Regions from separate parts of the Homo sapiens genome. Here all the other regions are linked to region 2. The links are contacts of gene promoters, found by promoter capture Hi-C in blood cells and fetal thymus (Javierre and others, 2016). All regions are on one chromosome and are shown on one strand. The core of a region is centred on a gene start or on the middle of the fragment in contact, and the rest is flanking DNA. Distances in the headings are between cores, read along the strand shown. Region 1 overlaps RIC8B (RIC8 guanine nucleotide exchange factor B). Region 2 holds the start of POLR3B (RNA polymerase III subunit B). Region 3 overlaps CRY1 (cryptochrome circadian regulator 1). Region 4 overlaps RIC8B (RIC8 guanine nucleotide exchange factor B).

What was found. The method cuts DNA at HindIII sites, captures the fragments that hold promoters and counts their contacts. A CHiCAGO score of 5 or more calls a contact.
Region 1: a contact is called between a fragment that was not itself captured here and the fragment with the promoter of POLR3B in region 2, in 9 of 17 cell types (megakaryocytes, endothelial precursors, fetal thymus and 6 more). The highest score is 9.4, in megakaryocytes.
Region 3: a contact is called between a fragment that was not itself captured here and the fragment with the promoter of POLR3B in region 2, in 2 of 17 cell types (total CD8 T cells and fetal thymus). The highest score is 6.0, in total CD8 T cells.
Region 4: a fragment that was not itself captured here is called in contact with the fragment with the promoter of POLR3B in region 2 in 1 of 17 cell types (megakaryocytes); the score reaches 5.6 in megakaryocytes.

The regions. Positions count from the first base shown.
Region 1 is chr12:106,886,838-106,890,581 of GRCh38, reverse strand. RIC8B (RIC8 guanine nucleotide exchange factor B) reads right to left here. Exons shown (of 10, transcript NM_001330145.2): 10 at 1,266-3,744. Among named protein-coding and RNA genes, the nearest start is that of TMEM263-DT, 67 kb to the left of the region's middle. The HindIII fragment of the contact is 167 bases long and covers 2,148-2,314 here.
Region 2 is chr12:106,356,362-106,359,975 of GRCh38, reverse strand. POLR3B (RNA polymerase III subunit B) reads right to left here and starts at 2,228. Exons shown (of 28, transcript NM_018082.6): 1 at 2,025-2,228. The coding sequence starts at 2,096. The HindIII fragment of the contact is 8,226 bases long and covers 1-3,614 here.
Region 3 is chr12:107,087,238-107,090,803 of GRCh38, reverse strand. The region is part of intron 1 of CRY1 (cryptochrome circadian regulator 1); the gene reads left to right. Among named protein-coding and RNA genes, the nearest start is that of CRY1, 4.5 kb to the left of the region's middle. The HindIII fragment of the contact is 914 bases long and covers 1,543-2,456 here.
Region 4 is chr12:106,870,386-106,873,622 of GRCh38, reverse strand. It overlaps RIC8B (RIC8 guanine nucleotide exchange factor B), which reads right to left. Exons shown (of 10, transcript NM_001330145.2): 9 at 2,681-2,800. All of the region lies in intron 2 of LOC105369961 (a long non-coding RNA gene), which reads left to right. Among named protein-coding and RNA genes, the nearest start is that of TMEM263-DT, 83 kb to the left of the region's middle. The HindIII fragment of the contact is 6,623 bases long and covers 1-3,237 here.

The DNA of each region.
Region 1 (3,744 bases), core at 982-3,481, 530 kb before region 2:
TTTATGTCTTAGTTTTCTCATCTGAAAAGTGGATGGAAGCTATTATAATAGTGCTTACTTCTCAAGATTGTTTTCAAGTTAGACTGTGCATGTCAGTGCACAGTACAGACTTTGGTTATGGACTTCTTACACCATGCATGTTAGTGCACAGTCTAACTTCAAGTGCTTGGCACAGTGATTGCTCAACAAATACTTGCAGCTCTTATTGTGAAGTTCAGTGCCGAAAAGGTAAAGGTCTCTGAGATCTGGATATAGCTGCAGGATAGGGCTTAGGATCTTCATGGTGCTGCACTAAAAGAAAACGCAAATCTGACTCCAGAAGCCTTGGAGAATAATTTTGATCTCTTCTCTTAGAAGAGCCTTTTTCAACCAGGTTTCATCTGGACCACAGAACACAGAAAGTGACTGGAGTGACTATTTTCTCAGTTCTCAGAATGTTACATAACTTACACTGTTCTAGATGCACGGGAGAGTATGTTCATTGTCTACAATTCAGGGCATGTAGGTTTCATGATCTCCAGTCCCCTCCGCTTTAAGAAAGGCTGCTCTGATATTCTTTGATGTTTCTTAGACCTGGAGACCTGGTGCAGGGACTCAACACAGTGCTCAGAGTCAAACCACTTAAAGTCCTCTCTAGATACCTCTCCCTTTCCTTAAACCTTCTCATAGTTGCTACAAATATCTCCCTTCCTCACCCATAATTTGTTCCTTGAACAGTTTGTTCTCCATATCGTGCTTATCACACACCTATTCTGACACGTGTTACCTTGCTTTTCAAAACTGAGAGTCACACATCACTCCCCAACCCTGTGTGTTCTCCACTTCTGGAACTGCAGTGAATATCTCCAAGAAAATTAATGCGAATAACTGGACTAAACACTAAACATGGTTGACGTCTTTTTTTTTTTTAATGCACTTTTCTAAGTCACCTGGCTCCCTCGCTCCCTTCAAATAACTCTTCTTGACAAAAACTATAGTTATCGGGGCACTTACTCTAGCTGTTCTGACTTGTGCTGCCGAGGCTTCTGTGAGACTGTTGCTGTGTGGCAGAGCAAGCCTGCTCCTCCTGGTGCCACCCCTAGTTCCTGCTGCTCTTCAGCACTAACAACTCATGCTGCCTTCTAGAAAGGCAGCAGGCACCACCTTTTTAAATTTTTTTTTTTTTTTATGGGCGTGGTGGTCATGATGTCTTCTGTTAGAAAGAATATTGGGAAGGAAACTAGCAGTGTCTGCCACAATTCACATAATGGAATATCATATAGCCATTACTTTTTGAAGAATATTTATTGACATGGGAAAATGCTCACAATATGTTAAAGAAAGCAGGATACAAATCTGTAAATACAGCATGATCCCAATCTTGTAGTAAAATAAATTATATATGCATAGAAAAAATACAGGAAGGAAATACACTAAAACATTAACAGTGATGATCTCAGGATGGTGGGATTTGGGGTAAATTATTAATTTTATTTTCTGCATTTTCCAAACTTTCCACAATGAACATATATTACTTTTATAATCAGAGGGGAAGAGGTCAATACAGGTGACACCTAGTCCTGGGAGGTGGCGAGACTGATGTGGCACTAAGGGGGTGTTTAGAGTCACTTGTACTGCCTCATTCTGTGTCCTCATTTATAAAGAAGGGATAATAACACCTGCCCTGCCTGCCTCCCAGGACTACTGGGCATCTGAAAGGGTCACAATATCTGGTGATTGTTCCTCTGTAGCAGCAGCTCAAATGCTTTATTTTAGGACACACGCCTCCGTACCCTGCTTCCAAGGTCAGGAGAGTTGTGGGCAGAGAGGCCAGCCTGCAGCCTTGGTCCCTGGCCTATCCTAACGGATTCCAGGTCTTCATTGGAAATCCAGTGCTGACCATGCAAGTTTCCCACTCATACTTCCACTTCAGGTCACTTCCCTGCTTAAAAACCTCTTTAAACTAGTTCTGTTGAAATAGTTATTGCTTAAAATGGCCTGAGAATGACCACCCTCCTCACACCACTCTGTTCCCAGCATTTCAGAGCCCTAAGGAGGCACAGTGTGGGCCCAGGTGTGCTGTGGGGAAAAGGAAGGAGTGGTGCTGGGAGTCAGGCCACCAGAGTTGGACTCTTCCTTGCTGTGACGTGGGGTAACTTTCATAAGCTTTCTGGAGAGGATCTTTCATATGCGATAAGGTGAGGTTACATGAGATAACATACATCAAAAGCCCAGCATGTAGTAAGCACTTAACAGATATTAGTTCTCTTTCTGTGTGCCAGATGAAGACACTCTCATCTTCTTCCCCGCAAACTCTCTTTTCAAAAACAAAGCTTAGTGCCCAGTGCAGAGAAATGCAAAATGAAACAGAACTCACTGAAAGCAGAAGAGCACAGCTACTGAAACAGGACTGTTCAAACACTTACTCTGCATAAAGAAAGCTGGTAAGATGGCATTTCATTAAACACATCTTCATTTAGGTAAGCTGACATGCATGCCAAAGCTATTTGATTATAGAAATTATAAAAATACTTTAAAAATGCATTTGTAGAATAACAAAAATACTTAAATTTTTTCTAAACTTTTCACTTAATCTAAAATTATGAATTGCCCATTTCTTTTGCTGTTGGTTAAAACCTGGGTCACTCACCTCTCCCTCAAACATTTTGGATGAAATTCTAACATCTATTGTCTTCTTCCTACCCTTTTATAAAGCGTTCTGGATTTAATTTCTTCTTTTAAAAAAACTCAGGGTCACCATTATAGGAAGTAGTCTACGGGCCATACTGTTGTACACACATTTTCTGGGTCAACTAGAGTATCCTTTGGTAAGTAGACAGTCCCAGATTTGCTATGTCTTGAAGTTTTATTCTTCTCATCTCACTATCTAGTTTTCAGTTGGCCTTTTTCTTCTTTCAGTATGCCTGCCTTCAATCTAGCAGCCTCTTTCTTTGCCATTCTTTTGTGAGCTTCAAAGCCAGCTAATAAAACATGTTGGAAGCGTATGCAAATTTCAGTTCAGAGTCTAAGAGTGATATTCTTGAAGATCTCTCCCATAAGTAAGTTGCAAGAAACTTTGTGACATCTCCTCTGGCAGCTGAAAGGCCTTTAAGACGTAATTCCTGATTTTTTTGCTTTGCCAGAGAGGTAACTTCTGGATAAATGACCTTTTCAGTAACCCTCCATGTACTCTACCTGTCCTTAAAAAGGCTATTAGAAGTGGGACCATGGATGTAAAAGCACTTTAAAAAAGCATAAACTGTGAAATAGTATTGTTTAGCCCATGTATCTATAAAGAAACACACACAGATGGCCAAATTGAATCAACCCCAATGTTTTATTTAATTTAAAGTTTTAAAAGGCAGTGGTTAAGCACATTATGTATATATGTATATATATGAATGTATGTACGTGTGTATATACATACATATATATACAGGAAACCAACCCCTTTTCAACTTTAGCCACTGATGAGCTAGGCCCACTGTCTAGTGCATGACTCACTTTCTACTTCTTCATAGGACCAATTCTAAAAGTAAAAATAAACACCCTTTATCAGTTTAACAGTAACTAATTGTGTTTCTTTTTTTTAAATAAATAAAGTTACTATTAAACTGATCACATATGGTAGAAACGTAGAACTCACACACACACCAGCACACACAGTCCCCAATTTAAAATGTGATGTATGAATGACCTATATGTACAAATGGGTGCTGCTGACTCCCCCACCCCAAGCAGAGGCCATGAAAGAACTCCCATTAC
Region 2 (3,614 bases), core at 979-3,478:
CACTGTTCACTTCATAGCTGTGTAAATTCAGATAAGAAATAGAAATCTCCCAGGCTTATTTCTTCAGCTCTCTGGAGAAGCGGTCCGATAGCAGTTAGGGATGAAGACTCGAGTCAGACTGACAAGAGTCCAAATTCCAGATTAGCCACTACCAGGCTTCTAATGCAAGGCTATTTACTTAACATCTTTGGGCCTCTCTGGCAAAATGGGGGTGAAAATAGTACTTATTTCAGAGGATTAAATAACATAATGCATGTTATGGTTAAACAGAACCTGGCACATTAGCAAGTGCTCAGTGAATGCTGGCTCTTTGATATTCACTTTTCACGGTTAAAATACAGTTTTGCAGCCGGGCACGGTGGCTCACGCTTGTAATCCCAGCACGTTGGGAGGCCGAGGCGGTGGATCACGAGGTCAGGAGTTCGAGACCAGCATGGCCAACACAGTGAAACCCCGTCTCTACTAAAAATACAAAAATTAGCTGGCGGTGATGGTGGGCGCCTGTAATCCCAGCTACTTGGGAGGCTGAGGCAGGAGAATTGCTTGAACCCGGGAGGCAGAGGTTGCAGTCAGCCGAGATTACACCACTGCACTCCAGCCTGGGCGACAGAGCTAGACTCCGTCTCAAAAAAAAAAAAAAAAAATAGTTTTGCCTGATGATCAGCAGCCTATTGCATGCACTTATAGACTGAATCTGTTGGAACTGCTAATTCAACTTCCTTAACTTGTCAAACTATTATAAAGAGGTTTTGTTTTGTTTTCCTTGAGACAAGGTCTCAGTCACCCAGGCTGGAGTGCAGCAGCACAATTACGGCTCACTGCAGCCTCGACCTTCCAGGCTCAAGTGATCCTTCCACCTCAGCCTCCTGAGTTGCTGGGACAAGTGCACGCCACCACACCCAGCTAATTTTTGTATTATTTGTAGAAACAGGGTTTTGCCATGTCGCCCAAGCTGTTCTCAAACTCTTGAGCCCAAGTGATCCGCCCGCCTTGGCCTCCCAAACTACTGGTATTACAGGCCACCACGCCTAGCCAAGGAGGTTCTTATAATCCGATAGACTTACTGATCATGTCACTTTCCTGCTTAAACCCTTCAAAAGCTCTGCTCCAAGACAAAGTCCAAGCTCTGTCAGATGTTTATTGAAACTTTTCATAATCAAGACCCTTACTTAACCCTGTCTTTTATCTCTTCTCCTCTATTTTTCTTCACTCTAATACTACTGGATTTACTTTCCTTCCTCAAAAACATCCAATGGTCTTGCCGAGGAGGTTTCAAGTATCCTGTTCTCTTTCCCTGAAATCTCTCCTTTGCTATCTTCTCCGGCCACGTCTCCACTTCCCTATTCCACGTCAGTGTAGATTTTGAGGCTCAGAGAGATTACAAAATGTGCCTTATCAGATAACAAAATATGTCGACAGCCGCACTTCACTGGGCAGCTCGCTGTGGGGCAGCTGTCCTTAACTTCCGAGAAGCTGATGAAAGCTGTGGAGTCTCTCCCCCAGAAAACACACAGGCAAATTCTTTAGTAAATATTGAGGGCGTTTAAAATTCCCCTGCAACCCAAACTGGAACTTCAAGTTAAAAGGAAAGATGACTAGCTTGGAATTCAGACGATCTGGTTTTACCCCCACAGCCGGCTGTGGTGCCTCATGCAAATGGCCTGAGCTCCCTGGCCCCGTGTCCTCTGTAAGACTGCAAACATGCAATACGTCCCCCACAGTAAGTGCGAGGGTCAGTCCTCCCCACGCACACCTATGCTGGAAGAGCTCCAACCCTAGAGCCAGCAGCGGGGCTTCTCGGCCCCCGCAGCGGCTGACAGCTCCTCTGGGATCAGCCTTCACTCGCGCACGCGGAGGCCGGCTCTGGAAAAAAGACTCGCAAGCGCGACGCTCTGGGCATGCGCAGAAGCCCGGCGCATGCGCACAAACCGCCAGCCCGCCCCCTTGGCGGCCCGAGCACTCCGGGCAACGCCCCCTCAGGGCGCATCCTTGTCCCTGACGCTCCCTGCGTGCCTGGCACTGACCTCTACAGTCGGGATCGGCGCCGCCAGCTGCTCCGGAGTCAGGTTCCCAAACTCCTCCGCTAGCACGTCCATGCTGCTCACGAAGGAGGAAGAAACAGATAGAACCTCCGCGCCCGCCTTCCCTGCACCAAGCAAACTGCAAGACTCCCGGCGAACGGTGCGCGGAGGCCTAAACTGTCCCCGCCGTGCGTGTTAGCTAGAGACGCGGTAGAAAGGTTCCGCCCGCTCCCTGCCCGAATCTGCGGTGGAACCCGGATGTGGCCGAGGCCGAGTAAGGAAAGTACGCCCTCTGGTGTAGCTCGGAGGTCTGGCGCAGGGAATCCTAAGCCCCAGCTGTCAGGTTTCTTGCCAATTCTCTGGTAATTGAGACCAGCAAAACATAGTGGTTGTCATTTTAAAAGTAATCCGAAGAAAAGTGTAAACGCATAATTTACGCAACTTGAACCACTGAGGCAGAGAATTATTTAATGTAGTCCAAAATTCTATGCATTGTTTAGTATGGAAGAGCAGGAAACGTCCCAAATGCCTACCAATAGAAGATTGATTAAATAAATGATGGTACATGCGTGTAATGGAAGAGTGTTGAAAATTCTCAAAAGCACTAGATGGAAGATGTAGGAGTAAATACCCAGCGCATGGAGAAATTTAATATGAAAAGATGACATTTACGTTAGTAGGGGAAGGATGGCCTGTCCAGTAAATAATGTTTGAAGAGCTGATTACCCATTTGGGGAAAAAATACATGTAAGTGAATCTTTTGTGGATTAAATATTGAAATGTTAACAAAAACTTAGAAGAAAATGTAAGTGCAGATATTCATAACATTGAGATGTTGAAGACTTTCAAGACGGCAACAGTCAAATCATAAAGGATTTTATAATCTAAACACGATTTTATGATTCCACGGAAAATTTTTAATTTTCTGAACAGATTTTAAAAAATCACCAACAAATAGAATTAATAAAAAATAAATTGGCAGAAGACAAAGGGCTGGTCTCTCTAATTTAAAATGAGCTCATACAAATCAACAGAAAGAAAAATCCTATTAGAAAAAACAAGGCAAAATGCACCAATTAATTAATGGGTACGGAGTTTCGGTTTGGGAAGATGCAAAAGTTCTGTAAATGGAGAATGGTGATGGTTGCACAACAGTGTGAATGTATTTAATGCTGCTGACCTGTACATCATTTTAAAGGGTTAAAATGCTAAGTTTTATGTATATTTTACAACGATAAGAAAAGTTATGAAAATTTGTAAGTACATATATGCTTTCCAATTTCTCCCTCATAAAGGTAGAACCCTTGCACCAGGTTAATTATTCTTATTTACTAAAGAGCTACTTAAATTTCAGTACTTGTATTTTCTTTTTTTTTTTTTTTTTTTTTTTTTTTGAGACGGAGTCTCGCTCTGTCGCCCAGGTGGGACTGCGGACTGCAGTGGCGCAATCTCGGCTCACTGCAAGCTCCGCTTCCCGGGTTCACGCCATTCTCCTGCCTCAGCCTCCCGAGTAGCTGGGATTACAGGCGTGAGCCACCGCGCCCGGCCGTATTTTCTAAGTATTGCACTGATATCTGAAATACGAGAAGAATG
Region 3 (3,566 bases), core at 750-3,249, 730 kb before region 2:
GGATGTATCTGGAGCTCAAGACAGAGATCCAGGCAGGAAGTATAAATTGGAGAATTCATTAGTTTATAGATAATATATAAAGCCATTTATTCATCCAACCATTTATTGAACAAATATTTGTCAAGCACCTACTATATGCCAGGCACTGTTTTAGGTGCTAGAGATCCAGTATAAACAAAACAGCCCCCAATTCTCACCCTGTTGGAGCTACATTCTAGTGGAGCCGTGAGACTGACAGCATTAATAAAATGAGATAGACAAGAGATGCAAATGGTGCAAGGGCTGAACCTTGAATACTCTTAATGTTTATAAATTGTGGAGCTGTGAAAGAACCAGCATATGAGACTGCGAAGGAGCCACTAGTAATGTAAGAAGAAAACCCAGAAGAGTATGGTGTCTTAGAAGCCAAGTAAAGAAAGTATTTTGGTCAGGCATGTAATCCCAGCACTTTGGGAGGCTGAGGCAGGCAGATCACTTGAGGCCCGGAGTTTGAGACCAGCCTGGCCAATATGGCAAAACCCCGTCTCTAGTAAAAAACACAAAAAAATTAGATAGGCGTATGGCACATGCCTGTAATCCCAGCTACTCGAGGAGGCTGAGGCAGGAGAATCGATTGAACCCAGGAGGCAGAGGTTGCAGTGAGGCGAGATCGTGCCACTGCACTCCAGCCTGGGCAACAGAGCCAGACTCTGTCTCAAAAAAAAAAAGAAAAAGAAAAAAAAGAAAGAAGGAAAATATTTCAAGGAAGAGTGTTTTACTTACGTCAGATGCTACCGATAGGTCAAGAGGAGAACTGAAAAATAAAAATTGGATTTAGCAATTTTAGGTCATTTGGAATTTTATCTGGAGTGGTTTTGGTAGTGTCAGAGGCAAAAGTCTTTTTGGAATCACTCATAGTACCAAATTCAGTGCTTTTTATATAGTAGTAGCTCAATTATTGTTTGTTGAATATAGTGATATCTTGGAGTCAATAATTTTATATTTAAACAGCTTTATTAATTTACTTATTGACTATGGGATAATGCCCAAATTCCTTAGCCTGGCAAGATCTACCTTTTGGCTTATGTATTTCATTTTCTGCTGTTTACAATATGTGATTTCAACTCCAGGGGGAAAACCCTCTTAGTTTTCTTTAGAAGCTATCTTGTATTTTCTTCGGTCAACACTTTTTAGACTTTTGGATTTAACAGAAAAGCAAAATTTTAAATAGTATTCTACCTAATAAGCACATTAACAAAACCACTTTTTGATATTGCCATCCTTTCATTTAAAAAGGATGTTTTATATTTAAAAAAAAAAAGTTTGGCAGAGCTCAATGTCTCATGCCTGCAATCCCAGCTACTCAGGAGGCTGAGGCAGGAGAATCACTTGAGCCCAGGAGTTGGAAGCTGCAATGAGCTATGAATGGGCTACTGCACTCCAGCCTGGGTACACAGAGAGACCCTATCTCTTAAAAAACAAACAAACAAACAACAACAACAAAAAATTTGAAGGACATTGTCTCAGAATAACATGTTTTTGATTTGGGTAAATTTACAAGCTTTATGAAAATTTGCATCTCTTAGAAAAATTATCCTATACAAAAACTTATACACTAACATTCACAGAAGCATTATTCATAATAGCCAAAAGGTGGGAACAACCCAAATGGCCATCAGTTGATGAATGGGTAAACAAAATATGGTATATCCATATAATGGAATATTATTTGGCCATAAAAAGGAATGAAGTACTGATATACGCTACATGTATGAATGAACCTTAAAAACAAACTAAACGAAAGAAGCCAGTCACAAAATTCCATGTGTTATATGATTCTGTTTATATGGAATGTCCACAGTGGGCAAATGTATAGAGAGAGGAAGCAGACTAGTGGCTCCTTAGGACTGGGGAAGCTAGGGAGTTGGGAGGTGATAGCTAAGGGGCACAAGGTTTCTTTTTGAGATGATGAAACTGTTCTAGAAGGTGATGGATGATTGTACAACTCTGTGCTTGTCTGGGATGATTAGCAGTATTCTGAACTCTTGCACCACTTTTTGCTGTTGCTCCTCACATCACTCTTAGCATTTGCTGCCCTCATTTGTGAATGTTAGTATTGTTTTATTAATAGTTTGTTTGAGCTGCTATAACAAAATACCTTTAGACTAGGTAGTTTATAAACAACAGGAATTTATTTCTCACAGTTTTGGAAGATGTCCAGAATCAAGGCACCAGCAGATTCAGTGTCTCTGCTGAATAGACGATGCTTTCTCTGTCTCCTCACATGGCAGAAGGGGTAAACAAGTTCCTGCAGCCCTTTTTATAAGAGCACTCCCTTAGTCTGTTTGTGTTATTATAAAGGGATACCTGAGGGTGGGTAATTTATAAAGAAAAGAGGTTTACTTGGTTCATAGTTTTGCAGGCTTTACTAGAAGCATGGCTTCAGCCTCTGGTTCTGGTGAGGACCTCAGAAAGCTTTTAATCATGATGGAAGGGGAAGTGGAGCTGACATATCACATGGCGAGAGAGAGAGGGGAGGGATACCAGTCTCTTTTTAATAATTAATTGTTCTGTTAATTAATAGAGTGAGAAGTCACTCATTACGTGATAGCACCAAGCCATTCATGAGGGATCTTATCTCATGTTCCAAACACCTCTCACCTCCAACATTGGGGATAACATTTTAACATGAGATTTGAAAAGGACAAATATCTAAACTATATCACTCCACTTCTAGCCCCCCAAATATCTTGTCTTATTTATTTATTATTTTTATTTTTATTTTTGAGACGGGGTATCACTCTGTTGCCCAGGCTGGAGTGCAGAGGCGTGATCATGGCTCACTGTAGCCTCAACCACCTGGGCTCAAGCAGTTGTCCCACCTCAGCCTCCCAAGTAGCTGGGACCACAGGCATGCATTACCATGGCCAGGTAATTTTTTTTATTACTTGTAGAGGTGAGATCTCACTAAGCTGTCTCATACTCCCGGGCTAAAGCAATTCTCCTGCCTCAGCCTCTGAAAGTGCTGGGATTATAGGTGTAAGCCACCATGCCCACCCTCTTTTTTCTATTGTAAGATATAATCATCTCTTTCAAAGTCCCCAGAAATCTTAACTAGTTTCAACATCAACTCAAAGTCTAAAATCTTATCCGAGACTCAAGGCAGATTCCTTATAGCTATGAACCTGTAAGATCAAAAACAAGTTATCTACTTTTAAGATACAATGGTGGAACAGACATTGGGTAAATATTTTCATTTTAAAAGGGACAAATTGACCAACAAAAAGGGACCCACCCAAGTCTGAAACCTACAAGGGCAGACATTAAATCTTAAAGCTGTAAAATAATCTCGCTTGACTCTTGTCCCATAACTGAGCACACTGGTCCAAGAGGTGGGCTCTTGAAGCCTTGGGCAGCCCCATCTCTATGGCTTGGTTGGGCACAGACCACATGGCTTCTTTCATGGATTGGAGTCTAATGTCTGTCACTTCTCCAGGCTGAGGGTGTGTGCTGTTTTCATCCAAAGGATTCTTTTAATCTTTCCACTTCCTCACTTTCCACTCCCTCCCACATCCTGAGCACACTGG
Region 4 (3,237 bases), core at 164-2,663, 510 kb before region 2:
TTCCTAGCACGATGCCTTGCACAGAGTAGCTGCTTAGTAAATGTTCCCTGAATTGTACTGAGTTTAGTCTATTTTGGCTTTATGGCATCTTTTTTTACCTCAAAAAAAAGTGGAAAGAGAGAAGAAACTTAAGACTAATGAGGAACACAGCACAAAAGACATGTAAGACGCATAAAGAATGACTTCATTCTTTGCATTACTGCTTTGGAATGCCCACTGCTGATCTTTATACAGTTTTGTCATTGATTGTATTTAGTGAGAGCAAATGTTAGAAAGCACACAAAGGCAGACAATGTAAAACGCCCAACACACGTCATGCAAAAATTCTGTATGATTTGAACTATTCTCAAGGTTGCCTTTTGCTTCAACTTTAATGGCAAAATTGATACCATCAAAGCCAACATAAGACATATTTGCTCTGCTTTAAACATGCAAAAATCAGTGTCACCTTCAGTTGGGCATCTGCTGGGTACTTCCGGATAAGTAGGCATCTTCTTTGAGGCATAGTTTAAATCAGGTGGAAGCTGGGGTATTTCAGACTTGACGTTTGTATATTTATTTGTTGGCAGCTTCTAGAATATGTGGATTCCCCTGAGATTAAAAGGAGAAGGACCTAGCACCTTTGTTTTCTGTGCCTGTGATAGAGATGCCTTATGAAATGGTAGTTCCTCTATTAGTAAGCCAAGTATCTGGATTATACTGTGTAGTCTTAGGCAGTTATTTCCCCTGTCTTCCATTTCCCTACCTGGAGTTTACTCATCCAGGGTAGATGGCCCAGTTAAATGGCATTTGTGTTAAACTTTAAAAACTCATGTTGTTGGTCAGAATATGAAATTTATGCAACTGGTTTACTGTCCTAACACACTAATGTGTTCTACTCAGGTCCTTGCTAACCTTTCCTCTCCAGTTTCTACCAGATGGACTCTGTCGGGTTTGTTTTTTTTTTTTTTTTTGAGACAGAGTTTTGCTCTTGTTTGACCAGGCTGGAGTGCAATGGTGCGACCTTGGTTCACCGCAACCTCCGCCTCCCAGGTTCAAGCGATTCTCCTGCCTCAGCCTCCTGAGTAGCTGGGATTACAGGCATGTGCCACCACACCCGGCTAAATTTGTATTTTCAGTAGAGACAGGGTTTCTCCATGTTGGTCAGGCTGGTCTCAAACTCCCGACCTCAGGTGATCCACCTGCCTCAGCCTCCCAATGTGCTGGGATTACAGGCATAAGCCACTGTGCCCGGCCTGACTCTGTTGGTTCTTATCCTGTTGTTTTTATACCCCTGTGTTTCATTAGCTACATCAGCTCCTCCTGGAAGTGGCCAAGCACACATCTTATCTTTATATATTCATTTTGATCTTATTCTGCCTCCTATAGGTTTGCCCTATCGGTATCTTCTCTGTGACTATTAATCCCTTCTGGGAGGGAACATTTCTGTTCTATACAAAGGTATGGAGAATGTAATTTGCAAAGAGGCAACAATGTCTTTTGAAGATTGTGAATATAGTCAGTTAGCTGTAAATTCTAACCTTGAGAAAGGATGAAAATTTAAAAGGGCTAGCTGGAAGTTACTGAGTTCTAGTCTTATTAGCTTTGTAGATAATTAAGCTATTTACTCCTAAACAACTTCTACCACACTACCAGCATCATACTCTGCAGCGTGGATAAATATCCATACTTGTCACACTCCCCATGTCAGTCTCTTGTTCTTGTCCATTTCTACCCCTAAGCCTCTGCTGTGCCCTTAATCTCTGCTCGTTTCTGTGTTCCACCTTTCCCTTTCATGGTTGGCTCTCTGGCTTTTCCATTCCAATGGCTCCTTCTTTTGACTGAGGGATACTAGCCTTTACACAGTTACTGTGAAAAAGGGGATGGCCAGAAGAAATGCATCTTTAAGTGGCAGCTGCCACCAACACACAGAAGCATTCATTCAAGATGGCTTAAAGAAGATAGTGACTCAATGTATGACTAGAAAATAGAGTGACTCAGCCAAGTATGAAAGGAATTATTTTCTAATAACTCCTCCAAGATGACTAGTTGCTGATTAGTATATACTTGATTTAATTATTTCAAAACTGGTTATTTTTGAAGGGGAAGGAGGTGAGAAGCAAGAGGGGAAGGGGAGTTTTTTGGTTTTTTTTTTTTTTTTTTTTTTTTTTTAGAACTCCTAATTAATACAAGTCCCTGTTTTCAGAAAATCCTTCATGTGAGCTATTTCTTTTCACTTTTTCTTATTGGGTGCATGACATTTTAGAATTCTTGGTTTCAGCAGCAACCCAAAAAGGCGTAATTGCAAACTTACACATCAAAAATGAAAAAATAAAAGCATCATGATTTGAAACAAAAACTAAAACAGGCTAAAACAAAAATACAAGCAGCAGCAAAATCACTGAATCTAACTCACAGCATCTTTTTGAAGACAGGGAGGTTAGTTGGTTAATTATTACAGTGCTCTGGTAGTTACTATCTTAGCTTTGAGAGTTTAAATGTTTAGGAATGCACATCCAGAAGCGGCACATGTAGAAAAACCATGGTAGCCAAGAGCTATCTGAACTACTGCTGCCTGGGCCACCCTATTCCAATCAACATGGATTTCCAGAGTTGCTGTTCTATGGTAACTCTCAGTGAGAGAGACAAAGAAATAGACCATTTTTAGAAACCAAGCAAAAAATGGATGGGAATACAATACCTGGAAAGTTTATCAAGCATGTTGACAAGTTTCATGGCTTCATATTCTTTTTGTTCTTCTGTCATTTCATCTATGGGGTTTGGCATTGGTTCCTCTAAATGACCAGTGATAAGATTAATGCTACAAAAAGAAAAAAAAGTTATGCTGTATGTTTTAAAATTATGCTCTTTCTATACTTTTCTGGTCCAACTTTTAAGTGATAATAAGAAAGAGTATAATAGCCAAAAAATTGGCAATAATTTCAATTTTATGGTATAGAACTGATATAGGAATTTTTAAAACTGGACTTTTCCACTAATTTGCTTTGGGAAATGGGCTATACTTTTTTTAAAAAACGAAAACTGTCTTGCCAACTTTTTTTTTTTTTAGAGGCATGGTTGCTTTTTAAAAATACAAAATTTGATTAGTGCCGTTAGGATATCCGTGGATGCACAGCTTATCCATTAATTCTAAGGGGACACATGATTTCAGGGAAGAAGAAATGAGGAAATCCATTTTGTGATACAGCATAAAACAAACATCAAAAAAAATTGGAAAAATGATGACAGAGAGGCTAC